2 separate regions of the Homo sapiens genome follow, and region 2 is linked to region 1. The links are contacts of gene promoters, found by promoter capture Hi-C in human tissues and cell types (Jung and others, 2019). All regions are on one chromosome and are shown on one strand. The core of a region is centred on a gene start or on the middle of the fragment in contact, and the rest is flanking DNA. Distances in the headings are between cores, read along the strand shown.

Region 1 (7,255 bases), core at 1,973-4,472:
ACTTCTCCTGCCTCAGCCTCCCGAGTAGCTGGGATTACAGGCATGCACCACCACGCTAAGCTAATTTTTGTATTTTTGGTAGAGACAGGGTTTCACCATGTTGGCCATGATTGGCCAGGCTGGTCTTGAACTCCTGACCACAGGTGATCTGCCCACCTCGGCCTCCCAAAGTGCTGGGATTACAAGCATGAGCCACCATGCCCGGCAATTTTTGATTCTTTTTGTAGAGATGAGGTTTCACTATGTTTCCCAGGCTGGTCTTGAACTCTGGGCTGAAGCAATCCTCCTGCCTCGGCCTCTTAAAGTGCTAGAATTACCAGTGTGAGCCACTGTGCCCTGCCAGAAATAAATTTATGTAGCTTGTGGCTATCATACTGGACACTGCAGTTCTGGTATGGTCATGATTTCAGTATTGAATGGGCATTCTAAGCATGGAGGTCAGGACCAACTTACCTTACAGGTTACAATAGCTCCCACATCTGGCAGTAACTGGGACTCTGTTTCTCTCACTACAGACACCACTGGAAGCTACAGAGGGAACAACAAAAAACTGAAATGTCCTGACTAACCCTTGGGTCAAGGCATTTGTGGCTTGAGAGTAATATAGGAATGTCTTGGTATAAAGGTGAGAGTTGGAGTATGGATTCATTTATAGCCCAGAGCAGAAGGCCTTAGAAATTTTAGGAAATAGGAGGACCAGGAGGCTACAGAATGCTGCTAGAAGACATACATCTCTAAACTTCTTTTTTTGTTGTTGGAGACGGAGTCTTGCTCTGTCGCCTAGACTGGAGTGCAGTGGCACGATCTCGGCTCACTGCAAGGTCCACTTCCCGGGTTCACGCCATTCTCCTGCCTCAGCCTCCCGAGTAGCTGGGACTACAGGCACCCGCCACCATGCCCAGCTACTTTTTTTTGTAGTAAATCTCTAAACTTCTAATAAGTTTTTTGGTGATTCTCTCAGAATTTCTTGGTATACAACTATATTGCCTATAATCATTGACAATTTTACTTTTTTTGTTTTTTTTTGAAATGGAGTTTCACTCTTGTTGCCTAGGATGGAGTGCAAGGGTGCCATCTTGGTTCACTGCAACCTCCACCTCCTGGGTTCAAGTGATTCTCCTGCCTCAGCCTCCCGAGTAGCTGGGATTACAGAAGCCTGTCACCATGCTCGGGTAATTTTTTGTATTTTTAGTAGAGATGGGGTTTCACCATGTTGGCCAGGCTGGTCTCGAACTCCTGACCTCAGGTGATCCACCTGCCTTGGCTTCCCAAAGTGCTGGGATTACAGGTGTGAGCCACTGCGCCCTGCCGACAATTTACTCTTTCCTCCAAAGTTATACTGCTTCCTTCTGTTTCTTATTTTATTGCACAGGCTGAAATTTCCACAAAAATGTTACATAATAGCGGCTATGCTTGTTTTCTTCTATTTTAAGTGAATACTTGCAGAGTTTTCTCTTTGAGCATGGTATTGGCTGTTGGTATAAGACAGATATTTTGAGCCTCATCTTTTATCAATCTCTCCGTTGCTCACAATGCTTCAGCTCTCCTGGCCTTCTTTCAGTTTCCCCAACTTACTAAATTCTTCCCACTTTCAGATCTCTCTTCAACCTATTCTTTCTGCCAGAGCTGCACTCTCTCCACCCACCTGACTCTTACCTACTCTTTAGATGATTCAGCTTAAATGTCACTTCTGCTGACTAGGATGGGTTTGCCTGTTACATGTTCTCAAGGTGCCCTGTAATATTCTTTCAAAGCACCACCACATATGTAACCATATGCTCATTTGAGCATTTATTTGTTTACAATTTGTGTCTGTGTCCTTTGATAGCAGAAACCAAGTCAGCGCTGTGCCTGACACATGAAAATACTCAAGTGATATCTATGAAATGAACAAACTCAGGACTGTTAAGAACATTCCCAACAATGACTGAATAGAAAGCCCCTTGAATCAGACAGCTTAAGTTACTTACTCAAAGCAGAATCAAAGTCAAGTTAGCCAGAACGTAACTGTTCTAATTCTGAATCCTCTTTCTATTGTGCTCCTTCAAATATTGCTTATATGATCCTGAGCTAATCCTGGATCTATCTCTGAAACTAGAAAGGTAGGTATTACTCACACATTCAACATTTATTGAGGAGCTGCCTTGTGCTATATACGGATGGTATGGTGGTAGGGCCTGCTTTCACGGACTTAGATTTAAGCAGGGGAGAAGTCTAGTAGGAAACATATACCTGAGTGTCTCATCATATGCTGACATAGTGCTTGGAAGAAAAGGAACAGAGTTTTTTGTGAGTCTTTAACAAAACAAACAAAAACAAAACACCCCACAAAACTCCTTTCCTCAATTAGTGGGTCCAGAAGGACTTCTCTGAGGTGATAGTAGAGAAGCTATCTAAAGGAGGTAGGAATTAAATAGGCCTAGGAAGATAGAAGCGTTCCAGATAGATGGCATGTTACAAAGGCTCTGTAGCAGGAGAAAGCTTGGCGCATTACCGACACTGAAAGAAGCTAGTATGTTATAAAAAATTTTTAAAGGGCAAGCAGAGACTGTGATTATAACTTTTAAACACAGAAAAGACAGTATGACTAGATTGCGTCAGTGAGGTGGAGATAGTGGCGCTAGATAAAGTCGGAAAGGTAAGCAACATTCATACAGTATGCAACTCACTGCTGGGCTGAGCTGGGCTGGGATGGGATACTGAGTTCGCATCTGCTTTTGTCCCAACTTCCCTCCCCGAGGGTCAGCAGCACAACCAAGCGAGATCAACACAACTAGTGTGTGGTGGCTAAGTGCACCACAGCGGCGATACGGCTAGAAGAAACTAAGAGACCAACATTGTACCACTGAGGCACTAAAGACGCGTCCGCAGTGCCCATGCCTAAGGACTGGAACTCAAGGGCAGCCTAAGGGAAAAACAGAGGGGAGATGGCATGCCGCTTCCTTTACCGCGCCATTCTCGCTGCTCTTCATCAGACAGCCGGCAAGCGACGAAAAGATGTAGCCGTGGCGGGTGTAGGTGCCGCTGCCCGGGCTGCCCTCCTCCAAGTTACACAGACGTTCGCCTGCAGAAAAAATGCTGCATCGGTCACGGGCCCCCAGAAGCTGTAGGCCGTTTAGCCTTCTTGCTTCAGCCCCTATCCAGGACTCTGTACGGGAAGCGCTCACTTACCGGGGATGCAGTATCTCACAGGTGGCGCCATGATTGCCGCTGTCCCAAAACCAGGATGAAAACGAAGTCGATTTCTCATTGGCCAAACCCAGGCACAGTTCCGCAGTAAGACACGTGTCAATTGGTACTCTTTATCCTTGCGAGTAAACTCCATTTCCCAGGTTACCCCGGGACAAATCCGGGGGCGGAACTTCAGAGGTCCACGCTGGCGCCTGCGCGTGTGGTTGAGGATGGGCTGGCGGCGGGTCCGGGTCCGCTGCCTGGCGCTGCGGGCGGCGGGCCATGGTGGTTTGGATTGAGCCGGGCCCGGCCGGGGCGCCGAGTCGGAGGGGGTGGCAGTGAGCGGCGGCAGAGGCTACGGGGCTCGGTTTGGCTGACTGGGGAGTCGGCAGGCGGCAGGTAAGGGCGAAGCCTCGGCCCTTGCTCCCCATCCTAGTCCCTTTTTCTGGGTAGGGCACTGCCCTGGGGCCTTGTCTTGAGTGCGGGTTCCTGCTCTCTCCTCGCCCCGCCCTGCGGGGCCGTGCCCTCCTCAGCCCGAGCGCACCTTCCGAGCAATCGTTACGCTCAGAGCAGGAGGGAAGGAGGTCAAGCGACCCAACTCGTCTGTTTCACAGATATGGAACCTCAGATTCAGAGACAGGGTTTGACTTGTCCAAAATGATCAAGATAGTTAAGATAGAGCCCAAACTGGAACCCACGGTTTTTGACTTCCAGTCCATCGCAGTTTCACCTCGCGGCTGTCATTGAGAAATAAAACCTTTTCCCGGTTTTTTTGTTTTGTTTTTGAGGAGTCTCGCTCTGTCGCCAGGCTGGAGTGCAGTGGAGCGATCTCTGTTCACTGCAACCTCCGCCTCCCGGCATCAAGCGATTCTCCTGCCTCAGCCTCCCGCGCAGCTGGGACTTACAGGCGCGCGCCACCACGCCCAGCTAATTTTTGTAGTTTTAGTAGTGACGGGGTTTCACCATGTTAGCCAGGATGGTCTTGATCTCTTGATCCGCCCGCCTCGGCCTTCCAAAGTGCAGGGAGTACAGGCATGAGCCACTGCCTCCGGCCTTTTCCCGGTTTTTTAAACTGCAGCTTCCAGTCCTGCGGTCCGATCCTCTTCGCGGCCCCTCATCCCCACTTCAGTAAGCTTTCTCTGGTTGAAAAAGCCGAACTCTGGTTGTGTGGGCCCGTCATCAAAAGATAAGCAGCCCCAAAATAAAGTTGTTACTCTTTTTCTTCTCAGCGTGTTAGCCCAGAAGGGAGGTCTGCACATGAATAAAATGCTACTCTTTATTGATGTTGGGTATCTCCTACTTGAGATTGCAAACATCCTGAGAGCAGCGTCTTTGTCCAGATGACATTCGCCACGACTTTGATCTCAGTTCACCTGACTTCTGATGGCTTTGCCGTCTGTCCTTCCCTGTCCCCTCAGTCGACTTTCCCATTGGGAAACAGATGTGACTTAAAGCCATGGGAAGAGGGGAGTGTTGTGGCCAGCAATCTCCTCCAGTCTGGTGGCAGATGACCAGTATGGCCTGTGACTATTACTGAAGGATCAGAGTACTCGGGCTTGTGCTTGGGGTGGTAGTAAAGCTGCGCTTTGCTCTGTTTCCTCCCGTTCACTGAGATTAGCCCCTTCTCCCCTACACACATCTTTTTGAATTTTGCTTTACTTCTATTTCTTGAGATGAAAAGTCTGGGCCAGGTGCGGTGGCTCACGCCTGCAATCCCAGCACTTTGGGAGGCTGAGGCAAGCACATCACCTGAGGTCGGGAGTTTGAGACCAGCCTGACCAACATGGAGAAACCCGGTCTCTACTAAAAAAATACAAAATTAGCCAGGCGTGGTGGCACATGCCTGGAATCCCAGCCACTCAGGAGGCTGAGGCAGGAGAATTGCTTGAACCCAGGAGGCGGAGGTTGTGGTGAGCCCAGATTGTGCCATTGCACTCCAGCCTGGGCAACAAGAGTGAAACTCCATCTCAAAAAAAAAAAAAAAGAAAAGTCTGTGTGTTCAGTTGCGGCCCACTTACTACATATGTAATTTTCCTGGCATCCCATACCCCATTAGCTAATGGAGAGAGGCCCTAGCCTCAGACTTTGTTCACCCAAATCTGTATCTGTGCGTCTAGGAGCTTTCTGTTTACACGGTTGGGCTGATTTCTGGTTGGGCTTGTTTTCAAAAACGACTTCTAGCTCCTAAGTGCCATGATTTTAATAACAGTTTGTATTTCTCTCTTTATGAATCAGGAAGAATGATAACAGCAGACACTTATTTAGTGTTACCACATTGGCAGGAGTGTCCTTGCTGGTATTTGTAGGACAGATAGACATCTGGCCAGGCTTTCCACTTCTGCATCCCTCCAGGTCATTCATTCAACAAATATTTATTGAGTACTTCCATGAGCCGGGTATTGTGCTAAGTGCTTTATAAACATTTCATTTACACTTACCAAAGAAGTTTGCTCTTCATACCTGTGGGTTTCACATTGCTGATCCAATCCAACCATGGATTGGAAATATTTGGGGGCAGCTGGGCATGGTGGTTCGCTCACACCTGTAATCCCAGCACTTTGGGAGGCCAAGGCAGACAGATCACCTGAGGTCAGGAGTTCAAGACCAGCCTGGCCAACATTGCGAAACCCCGTCTCTACTAAAAATACAAACATTTGCTGGGCGAGGTGGCAGGTGCCTGTAATCCCAGCTACTTGGGAGGCTGAGGCAGGGAGAATTGCTTGAACCCAGAAGGCGGAGGTTGCAGTGAGCCGAGATCTTGCCACTGCACTACAGCCTGGGCAACAGAGCGAGACTTCATCTCAAAAACAAACAAAAAAAGTGTTTATGTGTAGCATTTACTTTGTATTAGGTATTATGAGTAATCTAGAAATGATTTAAAGTATATGGGAAGATACGTATAGGTTATATGCAAACACTATGCCATTTTATATCAGATTTGAGCATCCATGGATTTTGGTATCTGAAGGGAGGACTGGAACCAATCCCTCCGCAGATATGGGGGTTGACTGTATCTGTATAGTTACAGAATCATAAAAGGTTAGAGCTGGAAGGGACCTTAGCATTTAATCCTACTCCCTCACTGAATGTGAACACAAGGAGATTGAGTCCCAGTAGAGTTGAATGATTTGTCTGAGGTTACGGAACTGCTTAGGGACAGAATTGAACCCTAAAGAATTGGGTAAATCTGGTCTTTGAGGCAGACATTTCCTGCAGCGCTGAAGAATTTAGGACATGTTTAAGAATGATCTGAAAAGTGGAGAATAGAAGTTTTTTTTTTTTTTAAGACTAGAAGAGGTGTGAGGTAGTATATAATTCGAGTTTATTACAAACAAGGAGTGCATTGGATTTGCATGCCATTGCTACAAAAAGTATTTTGGCAAATAGGAAACTCTCCATGACCTATAGAAAGGGAATGAACAGCAGTGTGGACAGTCCAAAAGCCACCTAGATTTGTTGTGGGGTAATCTGTTTTGTCCCACTCTTACATTTGATTGTGGGTGTCTACTATTTTAAAAATTCATGCTACAAGCCAAATCATGCTTCCAAACAATAGGGGTGGAAGTTTGAGCGTGAGCTTTTAATTTTTTTTGAGGTGGAGTCTCACTCTGTCTCCCAGGCTGGAGTGCACTGGCGCGATCTTGGCTCACTGCAACCTCCACCTCCCGGGTTTCAGCGATTCTCCTGCCTCAGGCTCCCAAGTAGCAGGGATTACAGGCACGCGCCACCATGCCCAGCTATTTTTTTGCATTTCCAGTAGAGACAGTGTTTCACCACGTTGGCCAGGCTGGTCTCAAACTCCTGACCTCAAGTGATCCGCCTGCCTCGGCTTCCCAAAGTGTTGGGAGTACAGGCGTGAGCCACTGCGCCCGGCCTTTTTTTCTCTTTTCTACACTCCCCTTAATTCTTTTTTTTTTTTTTTTTTTTTGAGACGGAGTCTCGCTCTGTCGCCCAGGCCGGACTGCGGACTGCAGTGGCGCAATCTCGGCTCACTGCAAGCTCCGCTTCCCGGGTTCACGCCATTCTCCTGCCTCAGCCTCCCGAGTAGCTGGGACTACAGGCGCCCGCCACCGCGCCCGGCTAA
Region 2 (7,180 bases), core at 17-2,516, 81 kb after region 1:
GACATTTTCTATTTCAAAAGATGGGGTATCTTCGGGAGAGAAAACCAATAGCAAAGGCATGGAGACTTGGAAGCTCATGGAGGGCTAGTGGCTCAGGTGTGGTCTGAGCCTAGTGGAAGTGAGTGAGAGAACAGGTCCCAGCTGTCTATGCGGCTCACTTCTCCCTCCACTGGCCTCTGCACCCATCTCCATATTAGAGGCCTTCTCTGGTCCCCCATTCTCAATTCTAATCACTGTATTTTTCTGCTTAACTTGGGGATGACATATAAATACCTGACATACTCTAGATGGCCTTGTGCATTGTCTGTCTCTCCTGCTAGAATGTAAACTGCGGGAGAGCAAGGACTTTGTTTTGTATGGGTAAATACTGGGTCCTCAAATATTTGTTGAATGAATAAATGAATTTATGGGAATGTGGTAATGTGGACTGAAGATCATATTTTTGGAAAGACTTGATTTCCATGCTAAGGTGTTTGGCTTTTATTTTTAGGTAGTGGGGAGCCATAGAAAGTTTTTGAGCAGGGGAGTGACATAATCACTATTAACAAGGTTCCTGGCAGCAGCAAGGAAGATGGTCAGAGTGGGGAGAGAGTGCCACTTCCCTGGCCCTAGGTCAGCTCCAAAGCAACTTACCCTGCAGACTGATGTGCCATTTGTGTAGTCTGGAAGCCTATTCGCAGTCATTGTGTTTGGGGCGAAGCAGAGGATTCGATCTCTGGCAGGGCTTCATCCCTAAGGGTCTAACAAGCACTCTTGTGCACTGCTGGTGGAAGTGAAAATTGATAGTCTTTCTGGAAAGCAATTTGGCAAAAGGTAACAAGAACCTTAAAACTATCCCTGCTCTTTGACCTAGAAATTCCACAACAAGGACTTTATCATAGAGAATGAAGCCGAAGTGTGTGCAAAGCTTTATGCACTAAGACTTTGATTCTAGCGTGAAAAATGGAAAGTCTAAATGTGTGACTCAAGGACTTCTCAAATCCATCCTCTCATCTCCATCCCACTAAAACTCTGCCTACCATGATCGACACAATAAAATCTGAGTCCAGGCCCCTGTTTTTTCGCTCCTCTTCTAATGCAGCAGCCTCTTAACTGATCTTCCTGCCTTCATTCAAGACTCCTTAAACCCACTCTCCACATGGATTCCAGAGTGAACAATCAAAAATGCCTGCCTTACATATCATTTGGGGTCAGGAATTCAAGACCAGCCTGGCCAACATGGTGAAACCCCATCTCTACTAAAAATACAAAAGTCAGCCGGGCATGGTGGCATGCACCGGTAGTCCCAGCTACTTGGGAGGCTGAAGCAGGAGAATTGCTTGCTTGAACCTGGGAGGCAGAGGTTGCAGTGAGCCAAGATCACGCCACTGCACTCCAGCCTGGGTGACAGAGCAAGACTCCGTCTCAAAAAAAAAAAAAAAAAAAAGAAATGCCTCTCTTAGGCCGAGCGTGGTGGCTCACACCTGTAATCCCAGCACTTTGGGAGGCTGAGACGGGTGGATTACCTGAGCTCAAGAGTTCAAGACCAGCCTGGGCAACATAGGAAAACCCTGTCTCTACTAAAATATGAAAATTAACCAGGCGTGGTGACAGGCACCTGTAATACCAGCTACTCAGGAGGCTGAGGCATGAGAATTGCTTGAACCAGGAGGCGGAGGTTGGAGTGAGCCAAGATCGTGCCACTGCACTCCAGCCTAGGCAACAAAGCGAAACTCTTGTCTCCAAAAAAAAAAAAAAAAAAAAAAAGCCTGCCTTGGCAGGCTGCGGTGGCTTATGCCTATAATCCCATATGCGTTGGGAGGCCAACGCAGGAGGATCACTTGAGTCCAGGAGTTTGAGACCAGCCTGGGCAACCCTATCTATACAAAAAATTTCAAAAAGAAAAAGAGTGCCTATCCTTCCTTGGCTTTGCCCCTTCAGAGGCTCTCCCATCCCTTAGGGCATAATGTCCAAGTTGTGTCACTGGCCCAGAGGCCCTCACTGATCTGCCCTTCTTTTTTATTTATTTATTTATTTATTTATTTTTATTTTTATTTTATTTTTTTATTGATCATTCTTGGGTGTTTCTCGCAGAGGGGGATTTGGCAGGGTCATAGGACAATAGGAGGGAAGGTCAGCAGATAAACAAGTGAACAAAGGTCTCTGGTTTTCCAGGCAGAGTGTTTGTGTCCCTGGGTACTTGAGATTAGGGAGTGGTGATGACTCTTAACGAGCATGCTGCCTTCAAGCATCTGTTTAACAAAGCACATCTTGCACCACCCTTAATCCATTTAACCCTGAGTGGACACAGCACATGTTTCAGAGAGCACAGGGTTGGGGGTAAGGTCATAGATCAACAGGATCCCAAGGCAGAAGAATTTTTCTTAGTACAGAACAAAATGAAAAGTCTCCCATGTCTACTTCTTTCTACACAGACACAGCAACCATCCGATTTCTCAATCTTCCACCTTTCCCCCTTTTCTATTCCACAAAACCGCCATTGTCATCATGGCCCGTTCTCAATGAGCTGCTGGGTACACCTCCCAGACGGGGTGGTGGCCGGGCAGAGGGGCTCCTCACTTCCCAGTAGAGGCGGCCGGGCAGAGGCGCCCCTCACCTCCCGGACGGGGCGGCTGGCTGGGCGGGGGGCTGACTCCCCCACCTCCCTCCCGGACGGGGAGGCTGGCCGGGCGGGGGGCTGACCCCCCCACCTCCCTCCCGGACGGGGCGGCTGGCCGGGCGGGGGGCTGACTCCCCCACCTCCCTCCTGGACGGGGCGGCTGGCCGGGCAGAGGGGCTCCTCACTTCCCAGTAGGGGCGGCCGGGCAGAGGCGCCCCTCACCTCCCGGACGGGGCGGCTGGCCGGGCAGGGGGCTGACCCCCAACCTCCCTCCCGGACGGGGCGGCTCGCCTGGCGGGGGGCTGACCCCCCCACCTCCCTCCCGGACAGGGCGGCTGGCCGGGCGGGGGGCTGACTCCCCCACCTCCCTCCCGGACGGGGCGGCTGGCCGGGCAGAGGGGCTCCTCACTTCCCAGTAGGGGCGGCCGGGCAGAGGTGCCCCTCACCTCCCGGACGGGGCGGCTGGCCGGGCAGGGGGCTGACCCCCAACCTCCCTCCCGGACGGGGCGGCTCGCCTGGCGGGGGGCTCACCCCCCCACCTCCCTCCCGAACGGGGCGGCTGGCCGGGCGGGGGGCTGAACCCCCACCTCCCTCCCGGACGGGGCGGCTGGCCGGGCGGGGGGCTGACCCCCCCCACCTCCCTCCCGGACGGGGCGGCTGGCCGGGCGGGGGGCTGACCCCCCCCACCTCCCTCCCGGACGGGGCGGCTGGCCGGGCGGGGGGCTGACTCCCCCACCTCCCTCCCGGACGGGGCGGCTGGCCGGGCAGAGGGGCTCCTCACTTCCCAGTAGGGGCGGCCGGGCAGAGGCGCCCCTCACCTCCCGGATGGGGCGGCTGGCCGGGTGGGGGGCTGACCCCCCACCTCCCTCCTGGATGGGGCGGCTGGCCTGGCGGGGGCTGACCCCCACCTCCCTCCCGGACAGGGTGGCTGCCGGGCGGAGACGCTCCTCACTTCCCAGACGGGGTGGCAGCCGGGCGGAGGGTCTCCTCACTTCTCAGACAGGGTGGCCAGGCAGAGACGCTCCTCACCTCCCAGACAGGGTCGCGGCCGGCCGAGGCACTCCTCACATCCCAGACGGGGCAGCGGGGCAGAGGCGCTCCCCACATCTCAGACGATGGGCGGCCGGGCAGAGACGCTCCTCACTTCCTAGATGGGATGGCGGCCGGGAAGAGGCGCTCCTCACTTCCTAGGTGGGATGGCGGCCGGGCAGAGACGCTCCTCACTTTCCAGACTGGGCAGCCAGGCAAAGGGGCTCCTCACATCCCAGATGATGGGCGGCCAGGCAGAGACGCTCCTCACTTCCCAGACGGGGTAGCGGCTGGGCAGAGGCTGCAATCTCGGCACTTTGGGGGGCCAAGGCAGGCGGCTGGGAGGTGGAGGTTGTAGCGAGCCGAGATCACGCCGCTGCACTCCAGCCTGGGCACCATTGAGCACTGAGTTAACGAGACTCCGTCTGCAATCCCGGCACCTCGGGAGGCCGAGGCTGGCGGATCACTCGCGGTTAGGAGCTGGAGACCAGCCCGGCCATCACAGCGAAACCCCGTCTCCACCAAAAAAAAAACGAAAACCAGTCAGGCGTGCAGGCACTCGGCAGGCTGAGGCAGGAGAATCAGGCAGGGAGGTTGCAGTGAGCCGAGATGGCAGCAGCACAGTCCAGCTTCGGCTCGGCATGAGAGGGAGACCGTGGAAAGAGAGGGAGAGGGAGACCGTGGGGAGAGGGAGACCGTGGGGAGAGGGAGAGGGACTGGGACTGATCTGCCCTTCTTTGGCTTCATTCTGACCACCTCCTGCCTCGTGTGATCTACCTGGCAGCACTGCTTGCAGCTCCACAAACCTGAGCCCAGAGTAGGCTCACACTGCCTCCTCTGTCTGGCGAGCCCAGCCCCCTTGCCCTTTTGCCTGGCTAACTCCAGCTTGTTCTTTGGTACTTGGAGCAAACTTTAAGACCTTCCGCAGAGGGGGTGAGACCACATTCACGTGTCCCCCTGATTCCTGTGCATATCACTCCCCTTGCATGTGTGCATTAGTTTCTAACAATCTCCTGACATGTCTGTCTCCCTCACTAGCTCTGACCTTGAGAGCCTTAGTGACTTTGTGTCCGTGTTCCCCAGCACGGGGCCTGGTGCATACTAGAAGCTCAATACATGTTTCTTGAATGAATGAATGAATGAATGAATGGATGGATGAATCGATGAATGAATGAAGAATGATGCAAGCTCTTTATTATAAGAAATGCATCCTGAGCTGTGCATGGTGGCTTACACCTTTAATCCCAGTGACTCAGGAGGCTGAGGCAGGGGGAATGCTGGAGCCCAGGAGTTTGAGGCTGCAGTGAGTTACAGTCGCGCCACTGCACTCCAGCCTGGGCTACAGAGTGAGACCCCATCTCAAAAAAATTTTTACAAAAGCATACTTTATAGTGCTCAGCACATATTTGCTCAATAAATATTTATTAGATGATTCTGTGTGAAGTAAAAACAGGATTTTTTTGAAGTGTTATATTTATTCTATATTTTCTTTATGTCCTGAGTCGATTTCTAAGGATAGAACCTAGGGAAGAGGGGGCACAGGTAAATCCGGCAAGCAGCAGGGGTTGAGAACCACTGGTCCAGCAGCTGGTTTCAGATTAAAATAAAAACAGGATCGTGGACATCATAATGGTAGAAGCTTGTACATGCCATATGATCTCAGCAATATGAATGCTAATTGAGAGGAACAAAAGAAAATGTCTCAACATATTATTGCTGGTTATTTGGGGGTGATAGGATATAGGTTACTTATGTTTTTCCTTTTTATGTTTTTATTATATAATTTTTATTTTAAAAATTTTTTAAATTTTTAAATTTTTTACTTTTTTGAGACGGAGTCTGGCTCTGTTGCCCAGGCTGGAGTGCAGTGGCGCGATCTCGGCTCATTAAAAGCTCTGCCTCCTGGGTTCATGCCATTCTCCTGCCTCAGCCTCCGGAGTAGCTGGGACTACAGGTGCCCGCCACCACGCCCAACTAATTTTTTGTACTTTTAGTAGAGACGGGGTTTCACCTTGTTAGCCAGGATGGTCTCCATCTCCTGACCTCGTGATCCGCCCTCCTTGGCCTCCCAAAGTGCTGGGATTACAGGCATGAGCCACTGCGCCCAGCCTATTTTTTTTAAATTTAACATATGCCATCTTTTTTTTTTTTTTTGAGATGGAGTCTTGCCGTCACCCAGTCTGGAGTGCAGTGGCACAATCTCGGCTTGCTGCAACCTCCACCTCTTGGGCTCAAGTGATCCTCCTGCCTCAGCCTCCTGAGCAGCTGGGATTACAGGCGTGCACCACCACGCCTGGCTAATTTTTGTATTTTCGTAGAGGTGAGGTTTCCGCCCAGCTAATTTTTGTACTTTATGTAGAGACGAGGTTTCACCATGTTGGCCAGGCAGGTCTCAAACTCCTGACCTCAAGTGATCTGCCTGCCTCAGCCTCTCAAAGTGCTGGAATTCCAAGCGTGAGTCACCAAGCCCGGCCGACATATGTCATCTTTTAAATGTAAAAAATAAGAAAAGTGGTTGGACCAGAGACTCCTGACTGTGCTTGGGATCACTGGGTCATGGAGCCAGTCCCTGAGCTTCAGCCTTTGGTTAGTCCCCCAGGGGCGATTCTAGGTATCGGGTCCATTCCTGACCCTCTGGCCCTTTCTGAGCACCAGCATCCTGGTGCTCCGAGAAACTGTCTCGTGCCCTTGGAAACTGTGATAAACAGTTCCTAGGCCCACAACAGTCTCCCCTGTGGTTTCCAGGTCCCCAGGTGAGGGCGGAGCATGAGGAATGTGACAGGCCATGGTGTAATGGGATTTTGCTAAGAATTTACCACCAGGAGGTAGTCTCCAAATGGGTCCCAGAATAGAAAAACTGGCCTGTGGTGTGATGAGGAGTGGGACCACAGACCTGGGGGCCAAGACCAGCAGGAAGACTCAGCAACAAGGCATTGTGATCCTGGGGGCTGGGTAGTTGGCCATCCTGGCAGGCAGTTGGAGGTGGGCAGGGACAGCCAGGTGGGACACTGAGGGTTAGAAAGGTGAGAGAGTCAAGGAGTAGATAGTGGGGGGCTGACTGGGCCGGGAGAGCAGCCAGTGGAGGGAGCACCTTGGGTCAAGGCGCTCTCAGTCTGCCATCTCTTGGCCCTGGAGCAAACCAAGCAGTTGGAGTTGTCTGCAGGGAGATTTGTAAGTTCACTTGTTTGCTGTTTCATGCCATCTTCCTCCCAAAGCCTTTCCTGAGTCTCTTCCTGTATATGTTCCACAGTTAAGGCGAGCTCTTTTTCTCCTCGAAAGCTCTGTTGAGCTGGGCGCAGTGGCTCATGCCTGTAATCCCAGCACTTTGGGAGGCCGAGGCAGGCGGATCTCCCGAGGTCAGGAGTTCAAGACCAGCCTGACCAACATGGAGAAACCCCGTCTTTACTAAAAATACAAAAAAATTAGCCAGGCGAGGCTAGTGCGGTGGCTCACGCCTGTAATCCCAGCACTTTGGGAGGCCGAGGCGGGCGGATCACAAGGTCAAGAGATCGAGACCATCCTGGCCAACATGGTGAAACCCCGTCTCTATTA

The links. The method cuts DNA at HindIII sites, captures the fragments that hold promoters and counts their contacts. A contact is called where the count stands out against the background at its distance.
Region 2: a contact is called between a fragment that was not itself captured here and the fragment with the promoter of EXOSC1 in region 1, in 2 of the 25 tissues and cell types used here (mesenchymal stem cells and pancreas).

Annotation. Positions count from the first base shown.
Region 1 is chr10:97,442,784-97,450,038 of GRCh38, forward strand. EXOSC1 (exosome component 1) reads right to left here and starts at 3,223. Exons shown (of 8, transcript NM_016046.5): 1 at 3,172-3,223; 2 at 2,949-3,064; 3 at 454-528. The coding sequence starts at 3,202. ZDHHC16 (zDHHC palmitoyltransferase 16) reads left to right here and starts at 3,392. Exons shown (of 12, transcript NM_198046.3): 1 at 3,392-3,570. RefSeq lists enhancers at 2,352-2,932, 2,933-3,512 and a silencer at 3,444-3,653. The HindIII fragment of the contact is 7,908 bases long and covers 1-7,255 here.
Region 2 is chr10:97,525,449-97,532,628 of GRCh38, forward strand. All of the region lies in intron 1 of UBTD1 (ubiquitin domain containing 1), which reads left to right. Among named protein-coding and RNA genes, the nearest start is that of UBTD1, 30 kb to the left of the region's middle. The HindIII fragment of the contact is 3,642 bases long and covers 1-3,087 here.